7 separate regions of the Homo sapiens genome follow, and regions 2, 3, 4, 5, 6 and 7 are each linked to region 1. The links are contacts of gene promoters, found by promoter capture Hi-C in blood cells and fetal thymus (Javierre and others, 2016). All regions are on one chromosome and are shown on one strand. The core of a region is centred on a gene start or on the middle of the fragment in contact, and the rest is flanking DNA. Distances in the headings are between cores, read along the strand shown. Region 1 holds the start of GAR1 (GAR1 ribonucleoprotein). Region 2 has its middle 45 kb from the start of SEC24B. Region 3 has its middle 28 kb from the start of SEC24B. Region 4 overlaps SEC24B (SEC24 homolog B, COPII component). Region 5 overlaps SEC24B (SEC24 homolog B, COPII component). Region 6 overlaps SEC24B (SEC24 homolog B, COPII component). Region 7 overlaps SEC24B (SEC24 homolog B, COPII component).

Region 1 (3,399 bases), core at 654-3,153:
ATTTTTAGTAGAGACAGGGTTTCACCATGTTGGCCAGGCTGGTCTTGAACTCCTGACCACAGGTGATCTGCCTGCCTCAGCCTCCCAAAATGCTGGGATTACAGGCGTCAGCCACAGCACCTGGCCTGATCTGTGCTTCTACAAGTTTTGGATTTCTGAGAAAGAAGAGCAGCTTGACATTTTTAAGAAAGTAATAAACATTTTGACATACTTTAAAACTTCTTGTTCAAGCAAGCTTTTTCTCACTAAGTTTTAAGAGTAAAGACAAAAATCATCTCATTTCAGTTGAAAATGCAATCTGTGTGTGACAATCTCAAGTTCAATTCAGAATTGAGCAAATACACAGCAAAAGATAAGCAAAGGTTTCATACTAAATAGGTAATTTTCATTTTTTGTTTCAAAAATAATACACTTATATAGGCCCATAAAAAGACCAACATTCGTTAAAATCAAATTGCAGCATTTACTAAACTAAAAGAAAAAGAACAAGTAAAGTTTCCTCTCTCACTTATTTTGTTTTTTGTTTGTTTTGAGACCAAGCCTTGCTCTGTCGTCCAGGCTGGAGTGCAGTGGCGTGATCTCGGCTCACGGCAACCTCCGCCTCCCGGGTTCAAGCGATTCTCCTGCCTCAGCCTCCCGAGTAGCTGCGATTACAGGCGTGTGCCACCATGCCCGGCTGATTTTTGTATTTTTAGTAGAGAAGGGGTTTCACCGTATTGGCCAGGCTGGTCTCGAACTCCTGATCTCAAGTGATCCATCTGCCTTGGCCTCCCAAAGTGCTGGGATTACAGGCGTGAGCCACCACGCCCCGCCTACAAAGGTATTTTAAAATCCCATTTACAATAACCCTCTGAATTAGATAGGTACCAAGTTCCACCCTCTTCTAAACACGAGATCAAATATCAAGGTAAGGTCTCAGAGGGTTTGGGTGTAAAAGACTCCAACCAAATTTAATAAATGGGAAGTCATTACCTTTATTTGTGAGAGAAGCTTTGGAGAATGTGGGGGAAGCTGATGTCAAATATAAAGGGCTTAAAGAGAGAAGAGGGAGAGGAGCTTTCAGCACAGTCCAGTTCACAGCCCGTCGGTGCTCAAAACATACTTGAATACCTGGTACAAAAGATAAAAATGATGGTTTGGTTTTCTATAAGACAGCATAGTTTCTTTAAAATTACACACACACATGCATTGCTTTTCTTCCTTTAATTAGTTGAGACCATAGGACAAAAGAAGAGGCATAGTTGAGCGCGTAATGGTGCGAAAATCAAAAGGTTGGGAAGAAACAAGAAACTCAGATAAACGCTTCCGTCGGCTGTGACAGGTTCTGAGGCGCCCAGATCTACTGGACATAGCGCGGCTCAGAAGCCTCAGAGACCTGTCCGCACAGTTCCTGAAGTTAGCAACAAATTAGTGAGTGCTGTTGCGGGCCATTTTGCAGCCAGAGAAGCAAATGCGCAAATGCGCCCAGCCAGTCAGCACGGACTTCAAGAACCAACTTCATTCCTTGCAAGGTGCTTTAGTTCTGGCCGTTAGGGCGGCAACCAAACAGAAACCTGCCCCGCCTCTGGGAGAGAAGGCGGATCCCTAACGCCAGCTATCTCCAAGAGCAACATTGCCGCAGCACTTCCGGGACGTCGTGCTGCAAAGGACGCCGCTGTTATACGTCACTTCCACGGCTCAGCGTCAGGCAAGTTGGCCTCTCTGTTGTAAATTAGTGGTTAAGGTTATCTATTATTGCCACTTTTCCAGCGCTAAAGGCTGTTTTGGAACCAGTGTTGCTTGTTCCGCGGGTGATTGGCTTTTTTTTTTGGCAAACCAGTTATTCAAGTTTCTGGTCTTTAAAAAACTCTGTGGCGGTACGGTAACCGAGGAGGTTCCAGCGCGGCGGAAGTACCCCGCGGGTGGGTGTGTGCGCAAGGCCAGGGCCAGAGGGGCACGTGGCGCCGGTGAGTGGCCGTAGAAGCCGGAGGATTTGAAAATGCTGGACGTGGAACCCAACTGCCGGAGGGAGGGAGGAAGGAAGGGGATGCGGTGCGAAGACCTTGCTGTCTGTAGGGGGAGGAGATACTAATCATGGGGCGGCAAGGGTGGTGTGTGGTCGGTCGGCGCTCACGAGACCATGGAGAAGTAAACTCTTCACCCATCAGGTTGGTGGTCACTGGCTGTCTGACCGTGGGTGAGGTGACAGGGCTGCTTTTGTCTCCTTTATGGTGTTCTCACCGCAGCTCCGAGGGGTTGGAGTATACTCAGAGGCTACAGTGATCAGAAGACATAGGTCGTTTTTTTTTCATCAGGGAGGAGAGAGAATGTCTTTTCGAGGCGGAGGTCGTGGAGGCTTTAATCGAGGTGGTGGAGGTGGCGGCTTCAACCGAGGTGGCAGCAGCAACCACTTCCGAGGTGGAGGCGGCGGTGGAGGCGGCGGCAATTTCAGAGGCGGCGGCAGGGGAGGATTTGGACGAGGGGGTGGCCGCGGAGGCTTTAACAAAGGCCAAGACCAAGGACCTCCAGAACGTGTAGTCTGTATGCAGTCTTCAGTATTTAGCTTATTTGAAGGAGTAGGTGTGGGTTGGGGGTTTGTGTTGTTAGGCAGCAAGTTTGGGATACACAAGCCTGTGTGGAGAATGTAGCATGTAAGGGTGGAGTGGGGAGATCAAGAAAGCTGAGGGATACTTAGAATGCATCTTGGAGGTGGAACTTGAGGGTTGACAGGAAGATATTAAATAGGTAATCGTGAGTACTTATGCCTAATTCCCCGATTTTACAGATGAGAAAACTATGATTTAGAGTTAAGTTTTTTTGCTGGGGTCATAAGGTTAGTGATAAGTGATCAATTAGTGATATAGCTGAAATACAGGCTGGGTGCGGTGGCTCACGCCTGTAATCCCAACACTTTGGGAAGCTAAGACGGGAGGATCTTTTGAAGCCGGGAGTTAGAGACCAGCCTGGATAATAAAGCAGGAGACCCTGTCTGTACAGAAAAGAAAGAAATACAAAGCCAAGTATTCTGACTCCAAAGCCCATGCTTTCTGTTACTACTCAAAAGTAGATAAGTGAGAAAACAATTTGCTTGAGAGGGAAACTGCCAGAGAGGAAATCTAGAAAAACACCTATTTAGGGTAGTTTTAGAGTAATTAACAATGAGATGGGAATGGAAGTCACAGAAAGTGAAACTTACTACATTAAAGAGGAGAGAGGGTGAGTAGTGTCTAACTAAGAATGGCTTGGATGAGTATGCAGGATGGTTTGAAAGGAGCAGTTTCTAGAATAAAAGGTCCCAGCCCACAAGCTGTTGTACCAGTCCATACATGAGACCTTGAGAGCCTGAATCAGGATGGTGACAGTGAGGAAAAAAAAGGAAGGGTTAGATAGGAGAGAGATTTCAAAGGAAACAAAATCGGT
Region 2 (3,399 bases), core at 582-3,081, 430 kb before region 1:
TACAAATGCAGGGCACCGTGACGTTCTACACACGTGGGGATACGTGGGGGCGGCCATGTTGCCAAAAACATGTGGGGAAAGGGCAAGAAGGCCACTGGAATCGCCATGTTTGGGTGGACCCAGTTTCTAATGGCTGGCGTTTGCATATCAAAGGTTGCCAGCCTGGCTCTAGAGCCAGGGCTTTACAAGAAACTTTTGCGGAGATGCTTTAAAAAAAGGAAAACTTAGGGCTGGGCACGGTGGCTCACGCCTGTAATCCCAGCACTTTGGGAGGCTGAGGCAGGCGGATCACCTGAGGTCGGGAGTTCAAGACCAGCCTGACCAACATGGAGAAACCCCCGTCTTTACTAAAAATACAAAATTAGCCAGGTGTGGTGCATGCCTGTAATCCCAGGCAGCTACTCGGGAGGCTGAGGCAAGAGATTCTCTTAACTCTGAGGCAAGAGAATCGCTTGAACCTGGGAGGCAGGGGTTGTGGTGAGCCAAGATCGTGCCATTGCACACCAGCCTGGGCAACAAGAGGGAAACTCCATCTCAAAACAAAAAAGAAAAAACAAAAAAGAAAACTTCCCAAGGACCCCTTTTCCTGTCTATCTGCCTAAAATAATTTCTTAATAACTCCTACAACATTCCCCCATGTGGAGATGCCACACTAACTGCTGTTAGGGGGTTTTGGGCAACGACTCCTTCTGGCTACTTCCTGCTGAAAAGGGGCATCAAATGGGGAACAGCAGCTAGGGCTCCTCCTAGGGTGGATCTAAGGGTCCTCCGAAGAATGGCATGTCCATGTGTAGTTAGTTTACAGAACCATTTGGAGTTTGCTTCTAGGCGAGAAGAAACAATTTGAGGTATAGTATTGTGTATACAGGGTCCAAATATCAATACAAGAAGACAAATAAGCAAGAGAGGTCTTAATAAAGGGGTTAACCAATTCCATAAAGAAGACTGGAATTTATTAGAGGGACTGTGGCCACTCAGGGCTGAAGCCGGCATTTTCCCTGAGCCTGTCAATAATTTTGATTTGATTTTTAAGTACCTATAGATTTTCCTTTACTTTACTAGAGGTGTTAATCCAAAAGCCAGCTGCCAACCTTCTGAACCCCACTACAAAATCACAGTAGAAAATAAAAATCACTATAGCAATTGCCATAAGGTAATACAATTTTCTGCTTACTTGCACTCCACCCAAGCTTCTCCCCTTCACCCATATACACCCATACTATGAACTCATTGAGAAAAAGTCCTCTCTGTTATTCATTTTTAAATCCTGCAAATCTAAAACAGAATTGGGCAGGTAGTTGGCATTCAATCAGTGTTTCTTAAGTGAATTAACTAAATTGACAAGCCTAGTTTAGATCCGTGGCATCACAAAGTCTATCCTCAGAACCCCACACATGCTTTCCTAGCCATTTAGTTCCAAAAAAGAGCATGTTCACTACATAATTGGGACTGACTACTTTGCCAAATTCAAGCATCATTTCTGATACTTGAGAACATTGCTGTTTTTCAGTCAAAACTGTGTTGCATACTTTACTAATTACGAACTGTGAAACTATGGCATTACAGTTACCATTCTGGGGACAAGAGAGAAAAAACACAAGATTTTTATTTCCTGAACTCCTAAAAGTATCTGTTCCTAGTGCCCATGGTATGGGAGTAACACATCTATTACTAAAGGCACCGAGTACACTCAAGGGAATAGAACTGATTTTTATTTTGTCACTCACATTTACAGGTATCTATTTATTTATGTTTCTCTGGTTGAATTCCTCTTGAGGAGTTTACAATTTAATGTGTGCCTTCTTCTTTTGTAATTCTCCAAAGTACCTAGTAGAGTGTCTGGCACATAAAGGATTGTCAATAAACCGTGGCTGATGGGTAGAATCGCCCTGCTAAGTAGGTGGAACAACCCTAAACAAGCATTAATTGCTAGAATTTCTTGAGTCCTGAAAGCAGTCAGTGTCTAAAACCTGGTAAACAGGCTGCTCTGGCCACATGAGTGCTCAGGAATGACTAAACACTTCATTTCTGCAGCCACTGAATTTGTTTTTTTAAAGTCATCTCCAATGGCAAATAAACATATAGTGACCTTAATCTTTCATTTTTATGACCCACTGGTATATAATAAACAGTAACCATAAGGTAGGCTCAATGGTTAGTAATAGATAGCGTAACAGCATTCATTCAAAAGGTTGGCACTGAGAGACTCAAGCTGTGGAAAACAGAACTGAACTCTGTGAGTGCCTATTGGTTAGCACAAGTGAGGTTTCAGTAGAGACATTTGCTCTCAACCTCTCAAAACATTAATCTCTTTGCTTTTTAGGTCTTCTTTTGGTTACCATGAGTAAAATCAGAAGCAAATGTGTGGAGTAAAATAAAAATTAGGAACTCTAATTTCTTAAGAGTAACTCCTGCATTGTGATTTGATAGGGTCAGGAGCTAGAAGGAAGGATTCAATTTTCAGCAGCTCTGAAAGCTTTGCAGCCCGCCATGTGTTTCAGCTTGGCCTTGATCGCAGCCGTCCCTGTTTGCTATGTGGCAGACAGCTGTTCTCTCCCGGCTCTCCGGGGTCATTCCTCCACCTCACACACCAATCCGTGTGTGAAATGAGGCACTAGCAGGAACTGCAGCCCAACATGAGCAGTAGTCTTTGGCTGGAAGGCTCAATATGAGACCAGGACTGATCATCAAAGTGTCTCCCCAAGGGACAGATAAAAAAGACAGGCAGAAAACAAAATTTCCTACTATATAAGACTACCAAGAAATAAAGCTTACAATATGCCACAAAAAATCTACTTCTACTTTCTATCATATCTGGTTCTATTTTCAGCTGTTACAGCTTTCCTGTCACCTGCTGGCTCTTTCTGAAATAAAGATACCAGGAGACTGAACCACTGTGTGGCTTATGATTGAGAGCTCCCTGCTAGAGCACACAAATCACACCTGGCTGTGAGATGCCATTGCATCTAGCACATGACTGCTGTTTGTAAAATGTCCAGTCCTCATTATCAGGCTCAGCAGTCTCACCACCAGACTTTTAATTAATATTTTAAGCATCTGTGAGGGTGTGCATGCCCATGTGCATGTTTATAATACAGCGTCCAGTTTGCTTTCATTTTATATTTTCTGTTTCTGGAAAATGATGATTAAAATGAGGTAGAAAGGACTGTAAAGCCCAAAATACAGAAACTCACCTTTTTCCTTAGAATGACTTATTTTATCATTTTGAATGATCTAGAGCCTAGTTAGCCATCTCTCAGAAACTGAATAGGGAATGACTACTGCAACTGGGAGGTTGGACTGGTGACCTTCCCTGTTCCTCCCAAATTAGCAATTCTATGATTGTCATGTGCTGGGCAAATTGCTATGAAAACATTTTTCCAAGAAAATTATCAGGCT
Region 3 (3,399 bases), core at 508-3,007, 410 kb before region 1:
GAGGCTGAGGCAGAGGATCGCTTGAGCCCCAGCAGTCAAGGCTGCAGTGAGCTGTGATCATGCCACTGCGCTACAGCCTGGGTGACAATAATGCTTATTGACATGGACCTGGCATATCTAGTGAGACTAGAGATCATAGATGAAATTGGAAAGTATTATGCAGCTATTGGTTATCTGAATGTTGGGTTTATTGTCATGAAACAGCAGAGTCAGGAAACAAGGTGTTGGCCAGGCGCGGTGGCTCACACCTGTAATCCCAACACTCTGGGAGGCCGAGACGGGCGAATCACTTGAGGTCAGGAGTTTGAGACCAGCCTGGCCAACATGGCAAAACTCCATCTCTACTAAAAATACAAAAATTAGCCAGGCATTGTGGCACACGCCTGTAATCCCAGCTACCCAGGAGGCTGAGGCAGGAGAATTGCTTGAACCCGGGAGACGGAGATTGCAATGAGCCAAGATCTCACCACTGCACTCCAGCCTGGGTGACAGAGTGAGACTCCAGAAAAAAAAAAAGAAAGAAGGAAGGAAGGAGAGAAAGAGAGAGAGAGAGAGGAAAGAAAGAAAGAAAGAAAGAAAGAAAGAAAGAAAGAAAGAAAGAAAGAAAGAAAGAAAGAGAAGGAAGAAAGAGAGAGAAGGAAGGAGGGAAAGAAGGAAGGAAGGAAAGAAGGAAGGAAGGAAGGAAAGAAAGAAAGAAGAAAGAAGGAAAGAAAGAAAGAAAGAAAGAAAGAAAGAAAGAAAGAAAGAAAGAAAGAAAGAGAAAGAAAGAAAGAAAGAAAAGAAAGCAAGAAAGCTAAAAACTGTATTCTGCAGTAGAAGTTAAGGATCTAGAAAGTTTAGGAAACAACCAAGATGGTAAGTTCCTTAAGATCTTAAATGTAAACTGGTAGAAGTCTCCTACCAGTGGACTTCTACACTCAGTCTTAGGAATAGTCTGGATGGCTCACAGTTCACAAATTTGTTTACTAAGGTTGAATTTAGCCCTGGCTTATATTTCATTTATTTAATTCAGCAATGTTTATCATCATTTATTCATTTGCCAGTTGATTCTACAAAAAATTTTAAGCACCTATTTATATAGACACTGTTGACATAAAACAGTCTTTGTGGTGTCTATAGTCCAATGAGAGAGGCAGATGCTAAAGAAATATAGGCACAATTAATACATAAAAGGCATTTTTATGTGGCACACAGTCCATACCATATGACCCAACCAGAAGGTTCAAGTATTTCAGTACAATTTAGGTCAACTTCAATATTAAAAATACTTCCTAAGTACAATAGTAATTTTTAGTGCATATTATAAACAAGGGCCAAGAAAAAAAAACCCTAATTTGATCTTTATATTTGTTAGTTCTTAATGAAAATACTAATTGCTCTTTACCCATTTCTGTGAAACTCTAAATTTTTATTTGTGATGAGTCCAGGTCTATTGGATAGACTTTCAGCATTAGTAAAATGACAGAACATATTACAGGGAAAGTATAAGAACATACAGATTCATTTTCTTTTAAGCTTGGAAACAGGATTCTTTGACTCAAATAGGGCTTCTGTTTGGTGAATTAATGGGTCACCATAACCAAATAATTGTAAGTCACAATTTAACTGAAAACCAGAGAGTAAAAATAGCAAAGACTAAACATATAACATCCTTCTTTCTTCATCTTTGCTTCTGAAAGGTGTGTCTTTCCTGAACTATGAATCACTGCCACAGACTTTGCAAATTTGTTCCATAAGAGGGAAGTACCAGAGCAGCAGTAATGTTCTCATCGCGGGCTTCGCTGCTTCGGAGGGAAGAGGGGCACAGCCTATATAGTTTGGATAACTCTCATTCCCCACAGGTCGCATAAAATGGAAACTGTTAAAACATAAATATTCTGCATTGTTTCACATTACCTTTACACAATAACTGTGACGACTATACTAATAGCAGGCATGATCTTATTGCTTCCTTTCCTTCTTAAACTTGAGTCTTGGGTATCATCATAATCAACATTCTAAAGCTTCCAACATCTCAATCCTAAAAAGTAAATGAAAGCATGGTCCATAAAATTTACAGCTTATGTTTAGTATTTTGGCAACTATTGCTACTCCATAGGCCTGAAAGTAAAATAAATAGGGCTTGAATTTTGAGTCGAAATCAAAATTAAGGTTTTCTTTTTCTTTTATGACTTGGCTTGCTACAGAATTCTGATTGCTACAGAAAAAATTCTGAAAAATATTTGGTAAAATTCTGATTGCTAAAAAATTTTTATGAAATTCCCAGATTAATAATTGTTATTTTAGCCAAAAGTTTTTCAACATTGTTAAAATATAGCATTGGCTAAAGTCTCTCTCTCTATGTGTATGTGTGTGTGTGTATGTATATATAGATGCACACAGACTTTATTTATAATTTTTGCATGCCCTAAAATTTCCGTTTATGTATTCTTTCTGATTGTTTTTCCAAAAAATTAACACCCACATTGACTTATTAGCTTCTCTCCTAAGATAATTTTCTCTCCATATATGAAACAAAGTTGAAAAAAAATAGCTTCTTTTACATCATATAGTAATAATTTCAGTATCACATATTTTCTTCTTTGTCTTCCCAATAACAATTGCTTGAACAATGATGATAATGAATTTGTGGGTGAAATTATTATTACTTTGTGCTTCTTTACCCTCTTTTGTGTAATTAAGGGTACAGTGTACTTCTTTACCTTCTTTTGTGTAATTCAGGGTACAGTGTACTGTTTTACCCTCCTTGTGTAATTCAGGTACAGCAGCACCACATAGTGGACATTTTGGTACTTCTCCGTGAAGAATCATTTCGCTTACCTTCAAAGCAATTGGTTTGCTTTAAGGAATGCAATTTGTGTGGATATTGCTGATGATTATCTCTCTTAATATTGCTCTGGTGAGCCAACATGTGAAGTTACAGATTTCACCTAATATAAGAACAATAATCAGCCTCACAGTCATTGTGAAAAGATAAAAGAGAAGTATTTTAAAATAAGTGTGAAGATACATATAAGTCTGTGCTTCAAATTTACTATGTAATACTAATTATTTCCTAATGTATACTTTGTAAGGGAAGCAAAGCCAATGCTTAGATTTTAGTAATAATAATTCTCAGAGTAAGCCATTCATCCTCATCCATATTCCTATATATCTATAGAAAGAGGCCTAATAGAGGTAATTGTTGCTGTTGTGATTAAATCAAGGCACAAAGAAAAAAATAATGTATGCTATCCCAGGAGTTGATATGTAAATCCAGTTAGCAAAGAGAAAAATTATGCTAATATTAACATTGTCATTTTTTTTGCCACAGTAAGTCTGGATTTGTCAGACATCAATTAAAATCAGGGTGTGAGCAAGGATTTTACACATTCATGGAGAAACATAAAGAGCTGCCAT
Region 4 (3,399 bases), core at 284-2,783, 340 kb before region 1:
GGGTAGTTCTGCAGGTTTTTCTTGAATTCACTCATGTGAATTCATTTTGCTGGAGGTTTGCGGGACTAGAAGATTCTAAGATGGCTTCACTCACATGTCTAGCAGTTGGTGCAGACTCTTCACTAGGGTTCCTATGTTTTTCTGTACGTGGCTAGACCAGCTTCCCTGCATGATGATCCATGCAGCATTTCAGAGTGGAAAGGTGTAAGCTGCAGTGTCCCTCGAGACTTGAGGTCTGGGACTTGTACACTTTTATTTCTGCCACATACTGTTGATTAAAGCCAGTCACAGGGTTTGCTCTGATTCAAAGGGTGGTAAAATAGACTCCATATTGATGAAAGGAACTGTAAAATATTGTGATGATGTTTTTAATCTTCCACAATGATAGTTTGTCTTCCTACTAAAAATGATGAAACAGTCAGCATATTTAGACTACCTTCTTTCCCCATTCCTCATATGTGCTTATGTTGTTTTTACACTGTTAGGACATATAACACATTTTGTTTTGTCACCATATTCCTATTTGTTTCAGTCTCAGAACTAAGGTTGTTTACATATATACACACACACTATACATAGACACACATACATACATGTGCAGGTATATATATGTAGATTTATTCAGTATATCGTGACTGCTCACCAGTAGTCTTTTGCCATAGGTTTTTCAGTTATCTCTTGGTTGGATAATCTTGAAGATTACCTTCAATAACTTACCCAGTATTTCTCAACCGGGAACGATTTTGCCTTCTAGGAGACATTTGGTATTTTGAGCTATCACAAAGACCAATGATGAGTCATGCACTTTATTCCAGAAGTTCAACCTCGTATTATGGTTAGGCTCTTACTTAGTTACATGTGAAATAAGGCATCTGGTTAGAAACAGCAAATGAGAAGTAGCAGTTTACAGTGCAAAATGAGATCTGAACTGATACTAGAAGTGTTTATGGAATTCAGAGACCACATTATTGCAGAGTCAAAAACCTCTTACTCACCTCCTTACCTGAGTCACCATTGCATAGTACAATAATCTGTGCAATAATTAGTATTCATAGAGATCATTAGTAAATAAAAGCTTTTTGAGTTCACTTTGTTTAAGAAGGTAAGGAAGATTGCGAAATATTTTAGGAAAATTGTCATTAAAGTTTATTAAAATATTTGATGAGTAATTTTTCAGTTTTTAAAAAATCATTTGTACCACCTTTTCTAGATATACTAGGTAAATGTGATGCTATTGAAGTTTCTACAAGAACTTCAGATAAACTATTTTGTTAGTGATATATATTATTATATAATTATATTATATATTATATACATTATATATAGTATTGTATGTGGTACTATATTATATATTAATATATTTCAAGTTTCTGTGGATGAAATAGTTTCTTCTCTTCAGTTGCAGATTCTTTATCCTGTCCTGTTATGCAAAATGTTCAGCCTCCCAAGTCCAGCCCAGTGGTATCCACTGTTTTATCAGGATCCTCAGGATCCTCATCAACAAGAACACCTCCCACTGCAAATCACCCAGTTGAGCCTGTGACCTCAGTTACACAGCCATCAGAGCTATTACAACAAAAAGGTATTTGAGATATTTATTATTGTATATGCACACAGACACACATACGTATTTATAGAAGATATGAAAAAAAGTTACTTATAATCTCAATCCAAACACAACTTTTGGAATATTAACTTACAGTGTCTCATATATGTTTTACATAATTACATACCATTTTGTATTTTGCTTTTCTTTTTATTACACATAGTTCTTCATATATATTGAGTCTTTATTGCTCTTTTTATGGCTAATTATTCATTGTGTCAATGTATAATGGTTATTTCATTCCTCTGTCATGGGACATTTATTTCCTATTTTTTAAAGGTTATTATAGTTTCTTTTAGGATAGAGAAGCCAAAACTTTATTATTTAGTGACTCTCCATATCCTATTTGATTATTTCTGTGCTTTTTGTTATTGATAACAGAAAGTAAGCTTTGACAGAATTTTGCAAATGAAAGGGGGTGAAAATGAAATTGTAACCCATACTCTTGCGTCATTGAAGAACTATATGATTTATTGTTTGTTTAATATTCTCCATGTGTTAAGTAAGTAAAAGGTAATAAAATGTGTTGTTTTGACCCTGCTTCCCCACATTGTTTCTTTTGGCAGTTTTTGTTTTTGTTTTTGTTTTTCCTGTCTGGCTAAAATTCCAAAGTATTGATGTTTCAGGTTAATATATGGCATTTTTTATTTGATCAGAGATGATTGAACTGTTTTCAAGAATCTGTAGTTTGTATTTCCAGAGCAACCATTGTATTATTTTAGGGACTGTACTCACTATGTAATGACAGCTCCTAACGTTGAGTGTGAAGAACCTTCTTATAGGTCTGAAACTGAGAAAAGGAAAAAAGCATGATAAATTCCTAGGGTGATCTCATTGCTTGTATCTGTTGAGTGTCTATGTGATCAACAGAGACCTTTCTGTCAATTGATCAGATGATACATTACACATTTTCTTACTTGGTTTTTTAGGAAAAGTAACTGCAGCACCAAAGAGTGCCTGTTGATTCTCAACAAACCAGTGGGTATACTGGAAACTGAATTTAGTTCTTAAAAGTATTTGCCTTCAAAGTGAAGGTCCAGTAGAAGTTTTGTTTATCACAAATCAAAAAAGCTTTTAGGATAGATCAAAGCCCTAACTAAATGAATGGTGTCTTTTCTTGTTTTTCCTCTACATTGATGACTGCCTTCCATTTCTTAAATGTTTCGCTTTTTTTGGCCTATTACATTGCCCCTGCTGCTTATTTCTTCCTATTGTTTTTTTTTTTTTTTTGGAGTTGGGAGTCTTGCTCTGTCACCCGGGGTTGAGTGCAGTGGCATGATCTTGGCTCACTGCAGCCTCTGCCTCCTGGGTTCCAGCGATTCTCCTGTCTCAGCCTCCTGGGTAGCTGGGATTACAGGCGCACGCCACCTCGCCCTGCTAATTTTTGTATTTTTGGTGGAGATGGGGTTTTACCATGTTGACCAATCTGGCCTCGAACTTTTGACCTCAGGTGATCCGCCCACCTTGGCCTCCCAAAGTGCTGGGATTACAGGCGTGAGCCACCACGCCCAGCCCCTATCATATTTTCTTTTTTACCATCTTACTATAAATACCATCCTATCATCTTTTTATAAATAATATTTTGTAAATGGTTTGCCCACTAAACAATTGCAATTATGTTTCTTCTTTTTTCTATTAAAATATATTTTGAAAGTAGAAGAAGCTGCCATTTATTGAGCACATACAATATATCAGATACTTTATATCTCATTAATTCACATATTAATCTTATGACATAGATATTCTTCCTTTTTTACAGATGAGAAAAGTGAGATTGACAGAGGTTAGGTAAC
Region 5 (3,399 bases), core at 363-2,862, 320 kb before region 1:
ATAAATAGAATTATATATATTATATATTATAATATATATGGTATATATATGATATATATGGTATATATATGATATATACATGTGATATATACATATGATAATATATATGGTCTTTTTTGTTTGATTTATTTCACTTAAGCAAATTTTCAGGTTTCATTCACATTGTAGCGTGTATCCATACTTCATTTTTATGGCTAAATAATATCCCATTTTATAGATATACCATATTTTGTTTATCCATTCATCTGTTGATGAATATTTGGAGACTTTTGACCTGATATATCAGCATTCTGCTTTAGTTTAAAATTCACAAATAAAAGGAACACAAAGGAAAGGGCATTACTTTCCATTCTTTATTAAGAGGAAAAATATATGTGCAAAATTGTTCTACTTATCACGAAGAAGGCACTGCATAAATATTAGTGTCTTCTACCTATTACTTATTTAATGGGTGTCTTCATATCCACTGTCTCATTTAGACCTTATAAGAACATAAAAAACCACACATAGGACATTTAAAAAATCGTTAGCATTTTGCAGAAGAGTTATATAGCAAGTTACCTTCACTTATTCTTAGGAGAAAAGAACCACAAAGTTACATAGCAAGTAAATGATGGAGTTGATGTAACTGCAGTCTTTGCCTCCAAATCATGTTCTTTGCTGATAAGAAAATGTTCCTACACAAAAAACATCAGCTATTATGCCCTGAGTCGGTATACCTGATTCTCATGTTCATCTAAAATTATTCAATGAAAAATAATTATGCATACCTGTTCCTTCCCTATTACAATTGAAAATTAACCTAAATGTAGTTTAAACACCAGTTATAATACTGGTATTAATAGCAAGGGATAACCTCTGTAGCACAGAATTTTGTCTTACTGTGAAACAAAGCAAGATCTCTAACATAATAGAAGGATCATGCAGATTTTTTATTTTATTCATCATAATATACGCTAGCATACGTACCCAGGATAATTGTAGGTCTCAAAATATTTGTTGAATGAATGGAAGAAGTATATTGCTTGTTCTTTTCATGTGACCTGTGACCACATTTCATCATAAATTGTCACTGAACTCTCATCTTAACAGGTTTTGAATGAGCACACATAATGAAAATTCTTATAGTCTAACATTTATATGAATTAGTGTGCCTTTCATTTATATTACCTTATTAAATATGGCAGGTGTTATTTAATCTCTATTCTGCAGATATGTAAACTGAGACACAGAAAAGCTTAGTAGCATGCCAGATAGCAACCTAAGCCACAGACTCCTCATTTATGAATGTCTCAGTGTGCTATGATATAAATAAAAGTCATTAAAATTTAATTACCTTAAAATACCCTAATATTGATAAAATATATTTAGTAGTATATTTGGTAGATGTAATCCTTAAGATGTGACTATATTAACATTTCTATCAACCTAAAGTTTTTGTTTATGTGTTTGACTAGTTTTAATAGTTTAATATCTGTTCTTCTCTAAGATACTTTACATGTTTAACTGAATTTTATCCCACTCATCAGCTTCATATTCTCTCCACTCTCATCTTCTATTCTTAACAGAAATTCATTGGTTTTTAAAATGTCTCTAGACATCAATCATTTTACTTTTTTACTAGAATCAGGAATTTTCCTAGTTCCGCAAAAACATCTTTTTCAAAATTGCCAAAGGCTGCTTTAAGATACTTTGTCATTTTAAACCTAGTAGATATTTTGGTTTTCCTTTTAGGTGTTGACAGCTCTTCTACCACAAGCAGTGCTTCTCCAATGCCCAACAGTTATGATGCCCTGGAAGGAGGCAGTTACCCAGGTAATTTGTTTTGTGCTTGCTTGATCTTCATTTTGAAAGTTATTGACCATCAGTTGCCTTCAAATGTGAACATGTATTACACATAATAGCAGGCTATATTTTTAACAAGAAAAAAAGGACATTTTTCTGGCACTTCTCAGCCTCAACTTAATAGCGTTGTCACTAACAACTATGAAGCTTGTTTCTGGGGCTATTATTTTTTGTTGTTATAATACTCTTTATCTTTTTCTAAAAGATTTTCAGTAGCCTTTCTCTTCTTTCCCCTTCTTTTTAAAGAATAACTACTCCTTAAATAAATTTTATATTTCTATTGTCATGCTTAGGTCTTTGAATTTGAATTCTTTTCAACCAGCCTCTGAGTATAGTCTTTGACTCTTTGCTCCCTCAATGGCTTCTGGCTGCTTCTAGTAGGTAAATAGATGCTACCTTCAACTTGGGGGTAGGTTTTGGAGACATCACTTTTAACCATATCTGGAAATCACTTTAGCCATTACATTCAAGTACAGGAGTAGATAGTATTGAAAGAAAAAACTATCATTTCATTTTAATATACTGTGATTTTTCTTGCCCTCCTGTCTCCTATCACTGACAACCTGACAACTGTACCTGATCTCTCTCTCTCTTTTCCTAATGATTCCAAGCTTCAAAACTAACAGAAAAAGCAGTTTTGCCCTTCTTTTTATTTCTTATCTCTTTGTTGATGATCCAGGATGAAGTTTAATTGAAGTTGGAATGTTCTATACTTAAAAAAAAAAAAAACCCATGCTATCTTGCTATCACTATTCTATGAATCAGTAGAAAACTAATCTTTTCAGCTCAGTATGGAATTCCCTTGTAATATTTTAAAAATACTTGAATAAACGACTCAGTTTTTTGTAGTTAAGGATTTTTCCCCTAGGAATTTTGTGTGTGTGTGTCTGTGTGTGTAAGAAGTTGTAAACCATTCCAAAAACAATCTCTTATCAAGATCTTCTAGAAGAGTTGCTTCATTTACTAAAAGATGAACAACCATATAGTATCCCATGAGCTCTAGATTAATGTGAAATGAAATGTCTAGTGTAGTATAGTTGAAAGATTCTGGCCCTGCAGTCAGACTTTGGTTTCTTTGTATTCATTCAGTCAACGAATTCTAATCTTATAATGAACTATGTGTTGAGAGTATTTCAGTAACCTTGGACAAGTTTTCTTTCTATTTATACTACACCAAAATTAAAGAACTACGTGAGCATCTGTAGCAGTAATGTTAAATGAATTGTAGGCCTACTATATGTCAGGTACTAGAATAGATCTATAGAAACCTAGAAATATTATTCTTTCCTGAAGAAGGGGAGAAGATTTAGACCTTCATGTTTATTGGAGTGCAGTGGCATGATCGTGGTTCACTGCAGCCTGGTACTACTGGGCTCAAGCCATCCTCCCTTTTCAGCCTCCCAAGTAGCTGGGACTACAGGTGCACACCACCATATCCAGCTTTTTTTTTTTTTTTTCTTTTCATAAAGATGGGGTCTCACTTTGTTGTCCAGGCTGGTATCAAACATCTGGCTACAAACAGTCCTTCCACCTTGGCCTTCCAAAGTGTTGGGA
Region 6 (3,399 bases), core at 464-2,963, 310 kb before region 1:
GCCACTGTGCCCAGCCTATTTCCCTTTTCTTAAAGCAGTAGTTTTCCAGCTTTAAAAAAAAAGCGGCAAACCACTCTTCAACCAAAATATTATATAGAATTCCAATATAGAAAATAAGAAGTGGAGCTGCTTTGAGAATTTCCCCTCTTCTTCCACTGTACCATCCACACACCATCAGTGCCTCAGGTACTGCCAAGATTGTTTCCGTAAAAATACAGAGTGTCATGGATTATAGGTTGAAAACAGCTGCCCATCCTTCCAAATATAAGTTGCTACCAGGTTGATAAGTTTGTAAATTATGACCTTGTAGTATAAAAGGTTAGGTACCCCCTACGTAGGTAAATGTAGCGTATGGGCCATGCATAGTAGCTCACGGCTGTAATTCCAGCACTTTGGGAAGGCAAGGCAGGTGGATCGCTTGAGCCCAGGAGTTTGTGACCAGCCTGGACAACATGGCGAAACCCCTTCTCCTCCAAAAAAACAAAAAAATTAGCTGAGCATAGTGCCATGTGCCTGTGGTCCCAGCTACTCTGTAGGCTGAGGTGGGAGGATCCTTTGAGCCCAGGAGGTGGAAGTTGTGGCGATCCAAGATCATAACACTGTACTCCAGCCTGGGTGACAGAGTGAGACCCTGTCTCAAAAAAATAAAAAATTATTAAAAAAAAATATGTTGCATATGTATAAGAGAACCCATAGGTAAGGGGAAGGCATACATTTTTCTACCCAGTTATGTGTGTTTTGCGAAAATGTCTCTTTTATCAAAATAACAAATAATTAGGAGTACAGGCTTTAGAGTTGAGCAGACCTAAGTAGCTGTGAAACTGTGCAATTTATTTAACCTCTCAAAGTCTCAGTTTTGTCAACTGTAAAACAGGAATAATAATAGTATCAGCATACTAAAATAAATCATTCAATAAACATTTATCAAATGCCTTGGAAGTTAAATGCAAAGCACTGTTTTCCGTGTACTGGGGATAAAGTTGTGAACAAAACACAGTTCCTGATCTCTGTGGAATCACAGAACTTATATTCTCCGATGAACAGTCAAACTAGTAAATATATAATGTAATGTTTAGGGTATTACAATGAAGAAAAATAAATCAGAATAAGGAGTGCAGGTGGAGGGTGACTCTTGTAAATAGAAGAGTCTGGACAGGTTTACCCAAAGACTTTTAACATTTGAGTAGAGATCTGGGTGAAGTGAGAGAGTAAGCCACATGACTTCTCTGGGAATAAAAGGGTTCCAACCTGCATGAATGGCAAATATGGAGGTCCTGAAGCAGGAACAAGCTTTTTGTGTTCAAGGAACAACACTAAGGCTGGAATAAATAGATATCTCTACATGATATTAACGACTCTTCATAAAATTTCTTGCCTGGCTTTCAGTACTTCTGCTTTTTACTGCTTTGGCATCTCCTTTATTCATTCTTTGTTTATTGACTTTAAAACTTCATAAGTTATTTGGCCAGGCACAGTGGCTCACGCCTGTAATCCTAGCACTTTGGAAGGCCGAGGCAGGCGGATGGATCACAAGGTCAGGAGATCGAGACCATCCTGGCTAACATGGTGAAACCCCGTCTCTACTAAAAATACAAAAAATTAGCTGGGCATGGTGGCAAGCGCCTGTAGTCCCAGCTACTCAGGAGGCTGAGGCAGGAGAATGGCGTGAACCCAGGAGGCGGAGCTTGCAGTGAGCCGAGATCGGGCTGCTGCACTCCAGCCTGGGCGACAGAGCAAGACTCCATCTCAGAAAAAAAAAAAAAAAAAAAAAAAAGTAGGCCTTTTCACTTATGTTTTCTGTGTGCTCCTATTCATCTCCTTCAGGCTAGTCATAATGGAGTAGTTGGTCTTCCCTGAATGTGTACTATTTTTCCACCATGAAAGTGTTGACTCTTTAATTTAGATTTTTTGACATATATTGCATACATGCCTAATTAATCAGGACCTTCTTGCTTACAGTTACAGTAACATGCCCAAATGATTTTCACTTATGTCCTTAAATGTTCTTAGTTATCTTATCTACTTCAGTGTATTTTTCTCTGATAGCTAATATCCTCCATGTTGTTTATGTTTTTTGCAGTTCATTTCGGTGTACTTTGACAAATATTCCACAGACACAGGCTTTACTGAATAAAGCTAAGCTTCCTTTAGGATTGTTGTTACATCCCTTCAGAGACCTAACGGTAAAGTAACATTTTATAATATTTATGGGTACTGACATGTATGCTTATGTACAAGGTACTTAAATTTTATATTTTCTTAGAATTTTCTATATCTTCTTTTATTTGAAGTTAGAAATAATCATTTCCATAACAACTTGGCAAACATTTTTTGAACACCTGCTTTGTGACAAGCTCTAAACTAAGCACTGGTAGTACAGAGATGATCAAGTCATTGAAGTTGCCTCCAAAAAGTTCTTATCTAACAGGGAACAAAGATGTAAAAATAATTACAGTGCAGGATAATTAATACATGTAATTAATCAAATTCTATGAGATACTTAGGTAGTGAGTACAGTATGAGAAGTGATTCCCTGTGGATACAATAGCAAAAGTTTTCTATAAGTGTTGAAGTCTGTCCTGGATTTTGAAAGATTAGTAGTTTTGGAAGGTGGAATGGCCCTGGAAGGTAGATACACTTTCGGAGTTCTTTATTAAACACAAAGGAAACACCAACAGTGATGTCCACTTAGAGAGGAAAACTGCCTGTTCCTTAACAAATTAAACAAATTTGTTAATTCAACAAATAACCTTTGTAACAGTAGGGATTTTTAAACTTGTAAAGTTTTAAAAGTTTTAAATTTTGAAAACTTCAAAAATAATTTTATTCAGGGCTGTTTTATTTGTACTTCATAAGTTGCATTTCTGTCTCAAACTTTTTTTTACTACTGTTGTTTACTACCCTTCTTACTGGTTCTGAGTTTTCTTTTGCTGTCATTCATCCAAAAAATATTGATTGACTACCTGTCACGTTGGAAGCTGGAGATACAAAGGGTAAATTAAAAGCTTCCTTGTGAAGCTTACTTTACTACCAGGAAGTATAGAAAAGATCAAAATGAATAGAAAATAAAAAATTGTAATATGTGATAAGTACCGTGAATTTATTCATTGGGTAAATATTTTTAATCACCTATAATACTCTGAAAACCTTATCTATAAACCAAGACAGTTAATTTCATATATATATGAAATTGTATACTATATATATGTATATATATGAGAGAGTTTTTCTCTAAATACAGATATACATGATACCTTCTGGAAGCATGTATACTAAATTGTTTACAGTGACATCTTCTGTGATATAGAGTTCTGTAATTTTTTATTTTCTCATTCTCAGTTAACTATATTTCCTGATTTTTTTTTACAACAGATATGTGGTTACTTGCATAATAATAAT
Region 7 (3,399 bases), core at 386-2,885, 280 kb before region 1:
ATAGATTTTGAATTAATTATGCCATAACCAATTGTTTTTTAATATAATTCTATTTTTAGTGCTTGGGCATATATATTATAGGTTATCCCTATTTTAATAGAATATATTATTGTAGAAAAATAAGTTTCACGTTACCTGTGTCTTAATGGCTGCATGAAAACTTGTGTTTATTTTTCCCTTTCAAAAAATTTGTTGGCTTGGAATGCTTTACAAAAATTGTAGAGGATCACAAGGTATAATTCAGATTGCAGAAATTACATTGGTTGAGCAGAAAAAAATGATACATGTGACTTGGTGTTTGAGTAATGGAAACCTTCCCAAGGCTTTTTCAGAAGTAAATGGAAAAATATGCATTTCACTAATATCAATAGGGGCTACATGTTTTGGGGTTTGTTTGTAGACAGGGTCTTGCTCTGTCGCCCATGCCAGAGTGCACAATCACAGGTTACTGCAGCTTCGACCTCCCAGGCTCAAGCAGTCCTCCTACTTCAGCCTCCCAAATAGCTGGGACTACAGGCACGTGCCACCATGCCCAGCTAATTTTTTTATTTTTTGTAGAGACAAGGTCTCACTATGTTGCCTAATCTGGTCATGAACTCCTGGGCTCAAGTGATCCTCCCACCTTGGCCTCCCAAAGTGCTGGGATTACAGGCATGAGCCACCATGTCCAGCCTGGCTAAATGTTTTTAGACTTAAGAGATTAAAACAAAAATGTCCAAAAGAATCTAGACTTGTTCTGATTGTCAGATTTATTTCAGAAAAAAATGTATAAGAAGACATTTGAAATGAGGGAGCTGATGAAATGCATTTTTCCATCCTAAAAACTTAGCTGAATTTTGTTTCTTAAATAATGCGTATAAATTTTCTCTCTTATAGTGCCCATTGGATTCTAATGGTTAAAATACCTTTCACTTTGGTTGCTTTTTAGCTGTGGATCGGTCCGTTTCATCAAGTCTGTCAGATGCAAGAGATGCCTTAGTGAATGCTGTAGTGGACTCATTGTCTGCATATGGCTCAACTGTCTCAAATTTACAGCACTCTGCATTGATGGCGCCCAGCTCCCTCAAGTTGTTTCCTCTCTATGTTTTGGCCCTTCTCAAACAGGTAGCTTTTTATACATTGCTATATTTAATATTGTTTTTTAAAATTCTCAGATATGTACATGAAGAAAGGAAATCTAGGTTGTTTTCTAATACTTAACTAGAGGATTATTCACTTTAGCATTGAAAGAGTTTTGAAGAATAGAAAAAGATCAATGGGGCCATGCATGGTGGCTCACGCCTGTAATCCCAGCACTTTGGGAGGCCGAGGTGTGCGGATCAGCTGATGCCAGGAGTTTGCAACCAGCCTGGCCAACATAGTGAAACCCCGCCTCTACCAAAAATACAAAAATTAGCTGGTGGCACGCGCCTGTAATCCCAGCTACTCTGGGGGCTGAGGCAGGAGAATTGCCTGAACCTGGGAGGTGGAGGTTGCAGTGAGCCAAGATCATGCCGCTGCACCCCAGCCTGGGCAACAGAGCGAGACTCCGTCTCAAAAAAAAAAAAAAAAAAAAAAAAAGAAAAGATCAGTGGAAAATGAAGGTATACAAATACATGATGACTTTAGTGAAACCATATTCTCTCTTCTTTAATGTGTGTGAGCAGTTTGCATAATGGTGCAGTCATAGCTCACTCTTAATATGTCCTCTGGAAAGAGACTCTTTAAGGACAGGAACTAATATTAAGCATCTTTCCATGTCTCTGGCACCATAAAAGGTGTCAATGCATCATTTTATTTAATCCTTTCAACAACCTAAAGAGGTATTATTTTCCCTATTTTTCTCATGATGACAGTATAGCTCAGAGGAGCTAGGTAACTTGCTCCAGCATCACATACCTATTAAATGTCAGAGCTGAGAATTGAATCTAGGTCTGTCTGATTTAAAGGCCATGCTTTTTCCATGATTGACAGTGTATATTTGTTTTAATATTTGTCCACCATATTTGTATTTTACTTGAAAACGTTTATCTTTTTCCTTGTAGAAAGCATTTAGAACGGGTACAAGCACACGGCTGGATGATCGTGTATATGCCATGTGTCAGATAAAGTCTCAGCCACTTGTTCATCTAATGAAAATGATTCATCCCAACTTATACAGGATAGACAGATTGACAGATGAGGTATGTATTTTAGTGCATTTGAAATGTTTAAATTTGAATATATTTGAGTGTCTTGTTCTACAGCTAAGATGATAATATACTATCAACTGGTTTTTCTTTTTAACTCTTTTTCCCCCTTGTGGTAGTAATACATTAAATAAGGACACTGGCTGTGGATCTGATTGGATGGCAGGACTCTTAAATACCATCAGTGGTTAAGTAGTTTTAAAAAATAGTTTCATATCAGAAGTAATTTGTCTTGTAGGTTTGCTTATAATATGTATTACAAAGCTAAGTTGTAGAGTGGACATTTCCATTTATATTTTGTAGATATTGACTGCTTCTCTTTATTTTCTTTTTTTTAAATTTTATTTTAAAGACAGAATCTTGCTGTGTCACCCAGGCTGGAGTGCAGTGGTGTGATCTCGGCTCACTGCAGCTTCTGCCTCCCAGGTTCAAGCAATTCTGCTTCAGCCACCCAAGTTGCTGGGATTACAGGCACATGCCACCACGCCTGGCTAATTTTTGTACTTTTAGTAGAGACAGAGTTTCACCATATTGGCCAGGCTGGCCTCAAACTCCTGACCTCAAGTGATCTGCCCATCTCGGCTTCCCAAAGTGCTGGGTTTACAGGCATGAGCCACCACACCTGGCCAATATTGACTGCTTTTGATAAGATCAGTTGCAATTTTGATTATATAGTAAACCAAATCTGGTATCCAATAATAATTTTAATGTGCAAATATGTAGTGTCTTTTATCTTCCCTGTGTGAAAACTGTATTCTTTGGAATTAGTATTCCAAACATAATGTTATGTTGCCAAAGAAATGTAAAAAAAAAAGCTGGCTATGCAACAGAGCCAGTAGTCACACTTGTAATATATTCTGACCCCACCCTAAAAGGGAAGGGAATGTGACAGATCATTTTATGTATTCATGTTTTTACTTTTTAAATTTGAATACATTTGAGTGTGTTGATTCTACAGCCAAGGTGGTAGCATATAATCAGTATTTTTTATATCATGCAAAACTCCCAAGTGTTATTTTCCAATGCTTCATAAAGGGTTAGTGACCATTAGCTCCCAAACTGTGATGATAGTAATGTAATCTCATTCACATTCTCTCTTTTTCTTTTCAGGGTGCAGTACATGTTAATGACAGGATTGTACCACAGCCACCTCTTCAAAAATTGTCTGCAGAGAAGCTGACAAGAGAAGGTGCTTTCCTTATGGACTGTGGCTCTGTAAGCACCCTTTACT

Evidence for each region. The method cuts DNA at HindIII sites, captures the fragments that hold promoters and counts their contacts. A CHiCAGO score of 5 or more calls a contact.
Region 2: a contact is called between a fragment that was not itself captured here and the fragment with the promoter of GAR1 in region 1, in 3 of 17 cell types (total B cells, naive B cells and total CD8 T cells). The highest score is 6.0, in total B cells.
Region 3: a fragment that was not itself captured here is called in contact with the fragment with the promoter of GAR1 in region 1 in 8 of 17 cell types (total B cells, naive B cells, naive CD4 T cells and 5 more); the score reaches 16.2 in total B cells.
Region 4: a fragment that was not itself captured here is called in contact with the fragment with the promoter of GAR1 in region 1 in 11 of 17 cell types (total B cells, total CD8 T cells, naive B cells and 8 more); the score reaches 13.4 in total B cells.
Region 5: a contact is called between a fragment that was not itself captured here and the fragment with the promoter of GAR1 in region 1, in 10 of 17 cell types (total B cells, naive B cells, total CD8 T cells and 7 more). The highest score is 14.9, in total B cells.
Region 6: a contact is called between a fragment that was not itself captured here and the fragment with the promoter of GAR1 in region 1, in 8 of 17 cell types (total B cells, naive B cells, non-activated CD4 T cells and 5 more). The highest score is 13.3, in total B cells.
Region 7: a contact is called between a fragment that was not itself captured here and the fragment with the promoter of GAR1 in region 1, in 12 of 17 cell types (total B cells, naive B cells, non-activated CD4 T cells and 9 more). The highest score is 13.5, in total B cells.

What each region holds. Positions count from the first base shown.
Region 1 is chr4:109,813,859-109,817,257 of GRCh38, forward strand. GAR1 (GAR1 ribonucleoprotein) reads left to right here and starts at 1,904. Exons shown (of 7, transcript NM_018983.4): 1 at 1,904-1,946; 2 at 2,295-2,520. The coding sequence starts at 2,307. GAR1-DT (GAR1 divergent transcript) reads right to left here and starts at 1,524. Exons shown (of 2, transcript NR_186620.1): 1 at 973-1,524. RefSeq lists enhancers at 1,280-1,379, 1,550-1,949, 1,960-2,009, 2,360-2,409, 2,580-2,649. The HindIII fragment of the contact is 3,017 bases long and covers 989-3,399 here.
Region 2 is chr4:109,387,015-109,390,413 of GRCh38, forward strand. No RefSeq gene overlaps it. Among named protein-coding and RNA genes, the nearest start is that of SEC24B, 45 kb to the right of the region's middle. The HindIII fragment of the contact is 1,286 bases long and covers 1,189-2,474 here.
Region 3 is chr4:109,403,754-109,407,152 of GRCh38, forward strand. No RefSeq gene overlaps it. Among named protein-coding and RNA genes, the nearest start is that of SEC24B, 28 kb to the right of the region's middle. The HindIII fragment of the contact is 488 bases long and covers 1,514-2,001 here.
Region 4 is chr4:109,471,605-109,475,003 of GRCh38, forward strand. SEC24B (SEC24 homolog B, COPII component) reads left to right here. Exons shown (of 24, transcript NM_006323.5): 3 at 1,400-1,582. Among named protein-coding and RNA genes, the nearest start is that of MIR576, 15 kb to the right of the region's middle. The HindIII fragment of the contact is 920 bases long and covers 1,074-1,993 here.
Region 5 is chr4:109,489,593-109,492,991 of GRCh38, forward strand. It overlaps SEC24B (SEC24 homolog B, COPII component), which reads left to right. Exons shown (of 24, transcript NM_006323.5): 5 at 1,735-1,815. Among named protein-coding and RNA genes, the nearest start is that of MIR576, 2.6 kb to the left of the region's middle. The HindIII fragment of the contact is 755 bases long and covers 1,236-1,990 here.
Region 6 is chr4:109,507,929-109,511,327 of GRCh38, forward strand. It overlaps SEC24B (SEC24 homolog B, COPII component), which reads left to right. Exons shown (of 24, transcript NM_006323.5): 8 at 2,081-2,183. Among named protein-coding and RNA genes, the nearest start is that of MIR576, 21 kb to the left of the region's middle. The HindIII fragment of the contact is 851 bases long and covers 1,289-2,139 here.
Region 7 is chr4:109,529,361-109,532,759 of GRCh38, forward strand. It overlaps SEC24B (SEC24 homolog B, COPII component), which reads left to right. Exons shown (of 24, transcript NM_006323.5): 19 at 929-1,104; 20 at 2,025-2,162; 21 at 3,279-3,383. Among named protein-coding and RNA genes, the nearest start is that of MCUB, 29 kb to the right of the region's middle. The HindIII fragment of the contact is 3,538 bases long and covers 1-3,399 here.